Regions from separate parts of the Homo sapiens genome. Here region 2 is linked to region 1. Evidence: promoter capture Hi-C in 16 types of primary human blood cells and fetal thymus (Javierre and others, 2016). All regions are on one chromosome and are shown on one strand. Each heading gives the region's core, a stretch centred on a gene start or on the middle of the fragment in contact. The rest is flanking DNA. Distances are from core to core; before and after follow the strand shown. Region 1 holds the start of SLC38A7 (solute carrier family 38 member 7). Region 2 has its middle 35 kb from the start of PRSS54.

What was found. The method cuts DNA at HindIII sites, captures the fragments that hold promoters and counts their contacts. A CHiCAGO score of 5 or more calls a contact.
Region 2: a fragment that was not itself captured here is called in contact with the fragment with the promoter of SLC38A7 in region 1 in 1 of 17 cell types (total CD4 T cells); the score reaches 5.6 in total CD4 T cells.

What each region holds. Positions count from the first base shown.
Region 1 is chr16:58,680,861-58,686,399 of GRCh38, forward strand. It overlaps SLC38A7 (solute carrier family 38 member 7), which reads right to left and starts at 3,910. Exons shown (of 12, transcript NM_018231.3): 1 at 3,857-3,910; 2 at 3,095-3,318. RefSeq lists enhancers at 3,282-4,126, 3,637-3,696. The HindIII fragment of the contact is 5,837 bases long and covers 1-3,967 here.
Region 2 is chr16:58,327,131-58,332,725 of GRCh38, forward strand. No RefSeq gene overlaps it. Among named protein-coding and RNA genes, the nearest start is that of PRSS54, 35 kb to the left of the region's middle. RefSeq lists an enhancer at 5,227-5,595. The HindIII fragment of the contact is 398 bases long and covers 2,087-2,484 here.

The DNA.
Region 1 (5,539 bases), core at 2,660-5,159:
GGAAAACAGTGATTCATCCCATGCTTCTAATGCTCCCAACTCCTTTGCCGCCACCCTTTTAGGTCCTATTTCTTCCCCATTTCCTGGGTCACTCACTGAGCTCTTCTTGGAGCCATGTAGGGGCCCAGAACCACTCTAGCTGGTTTCTTCTCAGTACTCTCTCATGTGCTAGCATCTCACTGGCCACTAGGCTTGCTTTCCTGGGCTAGATTACAATGATCAGTGCCAAACATGCAGTGCTGTTTGTCACTATAAACCACTATTGCTGCAGCTATGGAATGCTTTCTCATTCAATCCTCAATGCAGCCCTAAAAGGTAGACATGACAGTCACCATTTTACCAAAGAGGAAGCTGAATCCCAGAGGGGATAACCACTCTCCCCTCAGTCATATGGCGGTCAGTGGTGGAGCTGGGATTCAAACCCAGGCCTGTCTGACCATAGGGCATCCATCTGTTTGTATCTGCCCCACTCCTGGGTCCAAGATGGTACCTTGGGTATGGCAGAACTCAGATAACAGGCTTATCACCTGACTGATTCTCTTTGCTCTCTGGATAAACACAATTGAGATGCAGTTTTTTTTCTTCCAAGAATCTCGAGAGGCTCTGAGGAGCCCAGCCCTGAAAAAGGATCTTCAGTGTTCTCAAGGTTCAGCTCATAGCCTGAGACCCGCAGAGAAATGATGGTCCTAAAGCATCAAGTCCACCCCCAGATCAAGAGCAGCCCTGGGCAGGGCTGTGATCTGGGTCTCCGAGTAGGTTCTGCCGTCAGAATGCTGACTCCTCCGCTGCCTATCTGTGTGACCCTGGGCAAGTCACTTCGCCCCTTTAGGCCTTTACATCATATGTTCCTGTGGGTCGTGTGTTAATATCAGTAAGGGTTTAAGACTCAATAAATGGTCACTGCTGCTGTTATTTCTGCAGATGCCCCTTCCCATGTTGCCCACCACCACCATGCCTGAGACTCTCCAGCCCTAAGCAAGCAGGGAGCAGAACACTGATCAAAACCAGAGCCTGGGCCGGGTGTGGTGGCTCACATCTGTAATTCCAGCACTTTGAGAGGTCGAGGTGGGCAGATCACCTGGGGTCAGGAGTTTGAGACCAGCCTGGCCAACATGGTGAAACCCCATCTCTACTAAAAATACAAAAATTAGCCAGGTGTGGTGGTGCACCCCTGTAATCCCAGCTGTGCAGGAGGCTGAGGCAGGAGAATCGCCCGAAATTAGGAGACAGAGTTTGCAGTGAGCCCAGATCACGCCACTGCACTCCAGTCTGGGCGACAGAGTGAGACTCTATCTCAAAACAAACAAACAAACAAAACTCAAACCACAGCCTGGTGCTATTGGCCAGGTAACAATGGGCACAGAGGCCCTGGGATAGCTAATGGGAGAAAGAGCAGGAAGAAGGCCAGATTTCAAGGGCAGGAACTAAGGGGGCAGGGAGGAGCCAGGGCAGTCTTCCCCAGAGGCTGCTATTAGCTGGTTACCACCCAGGCTGGCGAAATCTGCCAAAGACTCCTTCTCCTAGAGTCTCCTCATTCCTGAGTCCCGATTTCACGGTACTCATACAAAACTCCATTTTAATCTCTACTCCCTCCCTGGTTTAGTCTTTATTTATTTAGAGACAGGGTATCACTCTGTTGCCCAGGCTGGAGTGCAGTGGCGCAATCAGAGCTCACTGCAGCCTCAATCTACCAGGCTCAAGCAATCCTCCCACCTCAACTTCCCGAGTACCTGGGACTACAGGTGTGTGCCACCACAGCCAGCTAACTTTTAAAATTTTTTTTTTTTTTGAGACGGAGTCTTGCTTTGTCACCCAGGCTGGAGTGCAATGGCACAATCTCAGCTCACTGCAACCTCTGCCTCCCGGGTTCAAGAGACTTTCCTGCCTCAGCCTCCTGAGTAGCTGGGATTACAGGTGCCCGCCACCATGCCTGGCTAATTTTTGTATTTTTAGTAGAGATGGGGTTTTGCCATGTTGGCCAGGCTGGTCTTGAACTCCTGACCTTGTGATCCCCCTTGGCCTCCCAAAGTGCTAGGATTACAGGCGTGAGCCACCACGCCTGGCCAACTTTTTAAATTTTTTGTTCCTGTGGGGAACAAAATTGGCCTTTCAAAATTCAGGCCAATTCTCAACTCTTCTCCCATGTGACTTCTCCCACGTGACAAGCCCCCCACGCCTGTCATGTTTAAATTTTCTGTAGAGATGAGGAGGTCTCACTATGTTGCCCAGGCTGGTCTTGAACTCCTGGGCTCAAGCAATCCTGCTGCCTCGGCCTCCCAAAGTGCTGGGATTACAGGCGTGAGCCACAGCCCCCAGCCTGGTTTAGTCTTTATAGCCCAGAGGGAAAAAAAGGGAACTGAGCATATTCAGCCATAATGACTGCCCTAACCATTGGGCCACCCTCTCTGATGCCTTCAGCCCACTGGGGGTTTAAAATGACTAACAAGACCCCTTGGACTACTTCCCATTGCTCCTCCTGATGATGGACAAACAAAGCTGGGGACCATCCACTCATGAGAGGGAAAGGGTGAAAGTTCATGTGCTCTCAGCCATCTGTTATCAAGCATGGAACCAAGGGACATGGCACCAGAGGAAACATTCCTCTGCTGGCTCGAAACCCAGAAAGATCTGTCAGATGTCACAGGGCTTACACATCCTCTTACACATCCTGTCACCCAACCAGCAACTCAGCAAAATCAAAGCAGTGAGCAGCGAAGGCAGAGTCTTGGGACTCCCAGGCTTCCAGTGTAGCTAGAGAAAGAACCCTGCAAAGTGACCACTGCCAGAGCTGTGACCATCTCCTCCCCGCTGCTCACGTCACAGAGACAGAGGTCTACAGAGTGATTCGTCCAAGGTCACAAGGCTTGGTGCGGCTTCCTGACTCTCCAACCAAAATGTTTCCCTTGGGCACCCCTGCCCGAGTCCTGCACCATCCTCCAGCCTCTCCTGCCACCCACATGAGAGTGCAGGCTGGGGTCCTCGTGGAACTCAGAAGCTGGGGGTCCCACCTCTTGCAGATTCTCTGCCTTGGTTAAGACCTCTCGGCACCCCCACTGCTCACTGGCAAATTACTCAGCTCATTGTTGCACCTTACCTGCTCTTTCTCCCTGATGGGCTGTGCCAGAGGCGGTTGCTCCTTCTCCCCAAAGGTCTGGGATCTGATTCTCCTCACTTCCCTTTCTGGACCCAATTTCTTCTTTCTCAAGACTTTGCCTAAAATTTGCTGTCAGCAGAGGGAAGAGTTTGGGCTACTTCTGTGCTGGCTTCAGCAGAGCTGGAGGAAACTGAGCGGCTCTCACGCTTACTCATGAAATGGAGCTTCAGGACAGATAGGAAAACAGGCCCAGGAGGGAGAGGTTAGACTAAGGTCACAGTGGGTAGCTGGCAGAGCCAGAATAGAAGCCTGATGCCCACATGCTCAGGCCAGCGATGTAGGCCCCTCAGATCCCAACTGGAGTGTGCTCCCAGTCCAGCCTGGGGTTGGAGCCCTGAGATAGAAAGGGTGGGCTGCTTTGTGAGGTGAGGCTTTGTGAGGTGAGCCAGGGCGCACCCGGGCCAGGAGGCCGGGGCGGGGCGATTCCCAGGCCTGGAGCGAGAAGGGTGGGCTACTGTGGGGTAACCTGGGGAGGAGCTCCGGGACCCGATCCCGGCCTAGGACTGGGTGGAGACCCTCTGGCTGGGTAAAGGCGCGGCAGAGCTGGCGCAACAGAGGGACGGGCGTGGGGCGAGGACGCCAGGATCTGGACCCCTGCAGGGAAAGGGTCTGAGCTTTTCCGCGGTGGCGGGGACTGAGGGGCTCCACAGACCTCGGGGATCTAACACTTCCACCCTCCAGAGCCTGTCTCCGGCCACCTACCTTGGGGGATTCTTTCCCGAGCCGGCTGCGGAGACACGTGAGCATGCATCACATGACGCCCGCTCGGGCGGCCGCGGGACACGCTGGGAGTTGTAGTTTCCGCAAATGTGAAGCTTGGACAACACCAGCTCCCTGAATCCTCAGCCCGACAGCACTGCCCTGAGCCAGCCTCGCGTCCAGCCAGCTCGTGTTTATCCTCTTACTTTTAGTCTTGGCCTCTTGACCAAATCAAACACTGCTCCTTCCTCCAAGGAAGAGCATTAGGAGGTCTGGCCTCTTTGCCAGTCCCGGTGGCGGTGGGCCAAAGCTGTTTGGCCTCATTATCCTCCCGGTCTCTGTCCTTGCCTTCACGCCCATGGCCAGAGCACTGGAGTTTTTTTTTAATCAGTAATGTGGGGGACCTGGAGCCACGGTCTTTCCTGCAAGGGAGTGGGCTGGGGGCATGGTTACGACCCCATCGGTTTAGACTCTAGAACAGTTTTTGAGGGATTGTAGGTGCTCAGTAAATATTTGTTGAATGACGAAATGGGCATCCAGTCCTGGTTCTGTTCTTGGCTGTGTGTCACTCATAAATTGTCACGTAATCTCCAGCATCCCAATAGCCTCATCTCTGTTTTGTGGATATGCTCTCCACTGCACTTACCTCTCCATGCATCAGAGGTCCTCACCGATGAGGACACACTGGGAATCCTTAGAAACCCAAATCACACCTTTTTTTTTTTTTTTTTTTTTTTTTTTTTTGAGACAGAGTCTCACTCTGTCTCCCCGGCTGGGGTGCAGTGGCACGATCTTTGCTCACTGCAACCTCTGCCTCCCGGGTTCATGTGATTCTCCTGCCTCAGCCTCCCGAGTACCTGGGATTACAGGCATGCACCACCACTCCCAGCTAATTTTTGTATTTTTAGTAGAGATGGGGTTTCGCCATGTTGGCCAGGTTGGTCTCAAACTCCTGACCTCAAGTGATCCACCCACCTCAGCCTCCCAAAGTGCTGGGATTACAGGCATGAGCCACCGTGCCTGGCCTCCAAAAAGTTTATATAAATTGAATCATACTGGTTGAGTGCGGTGGCTCACACCTGTAATCCCAGCACTTTGGGAGGCCAAGGCGGGCTGATCACTTGAGGTCAGGAGTTCGAGACCAGCCTGGCCAACATGGCGAAGTCCTGTCTCTATTAAAAATACAAAAATTAGCTGGGCATGGTGGTGCACGCCAGTAGTCCCAGCTACTCGGGAGCCTGAGGCAGGAGAATCACTTGAACCCGGGGGGCGGAGGTGGCGGTGAGCAGAGATCGTGCCACTGCACTCCAGCCTGGGAGACAGAGTGAGACTCTGTCTCAAAAAAAAAAAAAAAAATAGAATCATACTGTCTTAATCAGTTAAGGCCGCTATAACAGAGTATCATAGACTGGGTGGTTTAAACGACAGAGATTTATTTTTCACCGTCCTGGAAGCTGTCAAGACTGAGGTCAGAATGCCAGCAGAGTCAAGTTCTGGGGAGGACCATCTTCATAGTTTTCAGATGGCCATCTTCCTGCTGTGTCCTCACATTGCGGAAAGCAGAGAGGGAAAGTAAACTCTCTCTTATTTTTATTTATTTTATTATTATTATTATTTTTAGAGACACGGTCTCTGTTGCCCAGGCTGGAGGGCAGTGGCGCAATCACAGCTCACTGCAGTCGCCAT
Region 2 (5,595 bases), core at 1,036-3,535, 360 kb before region 1:
GGCAACAAATAAAATAAAATAAAAAGTAGATGCAGAAAGACGTTTGAGAATGTCAAGCCTTTCTATGGAACTGCTCTAGAGCAAAAATACATTTATAAGATATTTGGGAAATAATGCTAATAAAAACACTCCATATAAAAACTCATGGATAACACTAGAGCTGTACTCAGAGGAAAATGCCTACTCTTAAAACACTCTGGAAGTAAGAAAAATAAAATACAGCAGTCAGTTAAGTCTGCCCAAGAAGTAAGGATGAGGAACTTTGTTTTCCCTTTGAGAGCTGCCTGAGGTGAGGTGCTCATTTTGTTAAACTTCCCAGAGTGAAACACTTTAGCAAAACAATAAATATCACAACTCAAAGGCTTATTTGGAGCTCAACAAGTTAGACATAAGGTGTTTTGTTGGTTTTGTTAAAAAGCAGATATACTGAGATATAATTCACATCCCACCATACAATTTACCCACTTAAGGTGCAAAAATGTTTTTTACCATATTCACAGGTTGGTGCATCCATCACTATAACCAGTTTTAGAACATTTTTGTTTTATTTTTATTTTTATTTTTTTGAGACGGAGTTTCACTCTTGTTGCCTGGGCTGGAGTGCAGCGGCACGATCTCAGCTCACCACAACCTCTGCCTCCCCGGGTTCAAGTGATTCTCCTGCCTCAGCCTCCCGAGTAGCTGGGATTACAGGCATGCGCCACCACGCCTGGCTAATTTTGTATTTTTGATAGAGACGGGGTTTCTCGATGTTGGTCAGGCTGGTCTCAAACTCCTGACCTGAGGTGATCCGCCCATCTCAGCTTCCTGAAGTGCTGGGATTACAGGCGTGAGCCACCATGCCTGGCCAGAACATTTTTATTACCACTGAAAAAACTCCATCCCTTGGCCAGGTGGTGGCACACGCCTTTAATCCCAGCACTTTGGGAGGCTGAAGTGGGAGGATCACCTGAGGTAAGGAGTTTGAGACCAGCCTGGCCAATATGATGAAATCCCATCTCTACTAAAAAATACAAAAATTAGCTGGACATGCTGATGCATGCCTGTAGTCCCGGCTACTTGGGAGGCTGAGGTGGGAGGATCGCTTGAGCCCAGGAGGTGGAGGTTGCAGTCAGCCGAGATGGCACCACTGCACTCTAGCCTGGGCGACAGCAAGAGACTCTGTCTCAAAAAAAAAAAAAAGAAAAGAAAAAGAAAAAGAAAAGAAAAGAAAAGAAAAAATCCCATCTTCATTAACAGCCATTCCCCATTTCTCCCCATCCCCACCCCGCCGGCAACCACTAATCTGCTTTCTGCATCTGTGGATTTGCCTATTCTGGAAATTTTATATAAATGGAATCCTGTGGAGAGAGAGAATGGAGAATGACTGCTTAATGGGGTACAGAAATGATGAAAAAGTTCTGGAGCTAGATAGTGGGGATGGTTGCAAAACATTGAGAATGTATTTAACATGCCTAAGTCGTACACTTTAAAATGGTTAACCAGTCTGGGCAACATGGTGAAACCCTGTCTCTACAAAAAATACAAATAAATAAATAAATAATAGCCAGGCATGGTGGTCCCAGCTACTTGGGAGGCTGAGGTGAGAGGATTGCTTGAGTCCACGAGGTTGAAGCTGCAGTGAGCTGAGACTGCTCTACTGCACTCCAGGCTGGGTAATAGAATGAGACTCTGTCTCAAAAAAAAATTATTAAAAAAATCTATAATACAGTGGTCGATTTTATGTTATGGTCGATTTTATGTAATGTGTTTTTTACCATAATAATTTTTAAAATCCAGACTAAGGAAGGCTAGTATTTGTGAAGTCATTAGACAGAACCATATCTAATTTAAGAATTAGTCATGAATATTGAAGTGGATTACTTTTTGTCACATTGTACTAAGAGAAACAACAAACATTGCCAACAAAATATCACCCAAAACAACAAATATTTAAGCTTATTTAACCAAAACATGGAGGTTAGGCATTTTGTTTCTTCAAAAGCAAGGTATAATAGTTTTAACAAATCAAACATATGGAGCTAAAAAAGATGTTTTAGCTATAAATATAAAATTTTAATAGATTGTTACCTAAGTGACTATGTAAAGCTTGGAATGTCACATTATGATGCTGGCTTCACCTTGCTCTGTTTATTTACAGACTAGGAAAGAGAGAAAGATAAGCCTCCAGGTTTATCGAGCTCCTAAAAATTTCTCACTTTGGCAGCCTTAAACTATTGTGCAAGAGCAAGTGGGGTCAGGCTGTGTGACTCATGCCTATAATCCCAAGAAGCTACCAGCTTTCAGGTCCCAAATATAATAAGACTCAAAGAAATGGCATCAAATTCTAGAGCAAAATCAAGCATCTACCATGGTTGTGCTGAATATCCTTCTGTTTCCACATAAGGGAACATTAGAGTCATGGCTTGCGACTTTAAAAATAAAAGTAACCAGGCGTAGTGGCACACACCTGTAGTCCCAGCTACTCTGGAGGCTGAGGTGGGAAGCTTGCTTGAGCCCAGGAGATCAAGGCTGCAGTGAACATGATTGTGCCACTGCACTGTAGCCTGAGTGACAGAGCAAGACCCAGTCTCTATTTTTTAAAAAACCATTTAAGAAAACTGCAACCAAGCATTAATGCAGTGGTTTGTGAACTTGGAGGCACGTTAGAATCATCTAAGGGCTTTTAGAATCTTCCATGTCCTGGTCACACCCAAGACCAATTTTTTAAAAAAATTTTTATTTTATTTTAGGTTCCGGGATACATGTGCAGAACATGCAGGTTTGTTACATAGGTAAACATGTGCCATGGTGGTTTGCTGTACCTATCAACCCATTATGTAAGTATTAAGCCCAGCATGCATTAGCTATTAGTCCTGACGCTTTCCCTCCCCTGCCTCATCGACAGGCCCCAGTGTGTGTTGTTCCCCTCCCTGTGTCCATGTATTCTCATTGTTCATCTCCCACTTATGAGTGAGAATATAGAGGTGTTTGGTTTTCTGTTCCTGTGTTAGTTTGCTGAGGATGATGGCTTCCAGCTTTATCTATGTCACTGCAAAGAACATGATCTCATTGCTTTTTATGGCTACATAGTATTCCATGCTGTATATGTACCACATTTTCTTTATCCAGTCTATCATTGATGGGCATTTGGGTTGGTTCCAAGTCTTTGCTATTGTGAATAGGGCTGCAATAAACATACATGTGCATGTATCTTTATAATATAATGATTTATATTCCTTTGGGTATATACCCAAATATATACCCCGTAATGGGATTGCTGGGTCAAATATTTCTGGTTCTAGATCCTTGAGGAATTGCCACACTGCCATCCACAGTTGTTGAATTAATTTACATTCCCACCAACAGGGTAAAAGCGTTCCTATTTCTCTGCAGTTTCGCCAGCATCTGTTGTTTCTTGACTTTTTAATAATTGCCTTTCTGACTACACCAGACCAATTGACTCAGACATTGGGTGTGAGACCCAGGCATCAGTATGGCTTTAAAGCCCCCCAGGTGAGTCCAATGTGCAGAGGCTGGCTGTCATGGCAAGAGATGCTTGACAATTAAGAAATTGGGAACACCTGGCCGGAGGCAGTGGCTCACGCCTGTAATCCCAGCACTTTGGGAGGCCGAGGCGGGCAGATCACCTGAGGTCGGGAGTTCAAGGCCAGCCTGACCAACATGGAGAAACCCTATCTCTACTAAAAATACAAAATTAGCCAGGCGTCATGGCACATGCCTGTAATCCCAGCTACTCGGGAAGCAGAGGCAGGAGAATCCCTTGAACCTGGGAGGTGGAGGTTGTGGTGAGCTGAGATCATGCCATTGCACTCCAGCCTGGGCAACAAGAGTGAAACTCTGTTTCAAAAAAAAAAAAAAGAAAAGAAATTGGGAACACCTTCTATCTGCCAGCGGTAAAGCTACTCAATTTTGCAGAAATAAACATGTAAGAGAAATCAAAGTCCTGCTCCCAAAAGAACGTTTCAGAAGTTGTTTTGAAAGCTCTGGGCAAGCTACATGGATGAAAGAAATGCTACAAGGGACTTGTGAACCTCGCTTCCATTCAATCACTCATTCATTCATTCATTCATTTATTCATTCACCGATTCACTCGCAAAGTCATTTATCACTGTTATTTATTCCTTCACTCAGTCAGTCATTCACGCAACATTTCTTAGGCTCCCCTCTGTGCCAAGTCCTGGAGAAACTGAAATAGAAGGAAGGATGGTGCCCCCCCTGAGAAAGCTTGTGATCTGGGATGACGGTGAGGGGTAACAGATGGTGGCAATTGAGTTCAGGGTGCTCAGGAAGAAGCCTGTCCTGGGTGTGATGAAGTGTGGGGGGAAGGGGTGTGTCACCCCGCTGAGTGGTGAGGCGGTGGAGGAGGGGGCTCCCTTGAAAACAACTTTCTAGGGAGAGGACACCTGAATAAGACCTGAGAAAGGAGCAGGTGTGAGCCCATCTGCAACAAATCCCCTGTGAGTGTGGCTCTCAGCCTGGCTGCCCCTGGGAGATTCCTTCCTGTCTGGCTCCACCCCCAGAGACTCAGGTTTCACGGGGCTACAGTGGGGCTCGGGCATTCGCATGCTTTTAAAATATCATGATTTTTTTAAATTGAAGTGAAATTCACATAGCATAAAATTTTTAAATTGAAGTGAAATTCACATAGCATAAAATTTTTAAATTGAAGTGAAATTCACATAGCATAAAATTCACCATTTTAAAGTGGACAATGCAGTGGCATTCAGCACATTCACACAACCACCCCCTCTACTTGGTTTCAAAACATTTTTATCATCCCCAAAATAAGACCCTGTGTACCCATTAAACAACCACTGCCCATTCCACCTTCCCCCAATCCCTGGTGACCACAAATCTGCTTTCTCTCGTTATGGATTTATTTATTTATTTTATTTTATTTATTTGTTTATTTATTTATTTATTTTTGAGACAGAGTCTTACTCTGTCTCCCAAGCTGGAGTGCAGTGGTGCGATCTCGGCTCACTGCAGGCTCCGCCTCCTGGGTTCACGCCATTCTCCTGCCTCAGCCTCCCGAGTAGCTGGGATTACAGGCATCCAACACCACGCCCGGCTAATTTTTTGTATTTTTAGTAGAGATGGGGTTTCACCGTGTTAGCCAGGATGGTCTTGATCTCCTGACCTCGTGATCCACCCGCCTTGGCCTCCCAAAGTACTAGGATTACAGGCGTGAGCCACCGCGCCTTGTCCTCTCTTTATGGATTTAACTACTCTGGATATTTCATAGAAAAGGAATCATACAAAATGTGACCTTTTCCATAGCTTCTTTCACTTGGCTTAATGCTCCACGGTTCCACCGTGTTGCAGCATGAGTCAGCCTTCGTTCCTTTTTACAGCTGAATAGTATTGGGTGCACCACAATTTTTTATTCATTCATTTGTTGATGGACATTGGGGTTATTTCCGCCTTTTGTGGCTATTGTGAGTAGTGCTACTATGAACGTGAGTGTACACATGTTTGTTTGGTATCTGTTTTCCATTATCACTTGAAGTATATACTGGGAATCTATAGTTTTCTTGGTTTTGTTTGTTTGTTTGTTTTTGAGACAGAGTCTCGCTCTGTTGCCCAGGCTGG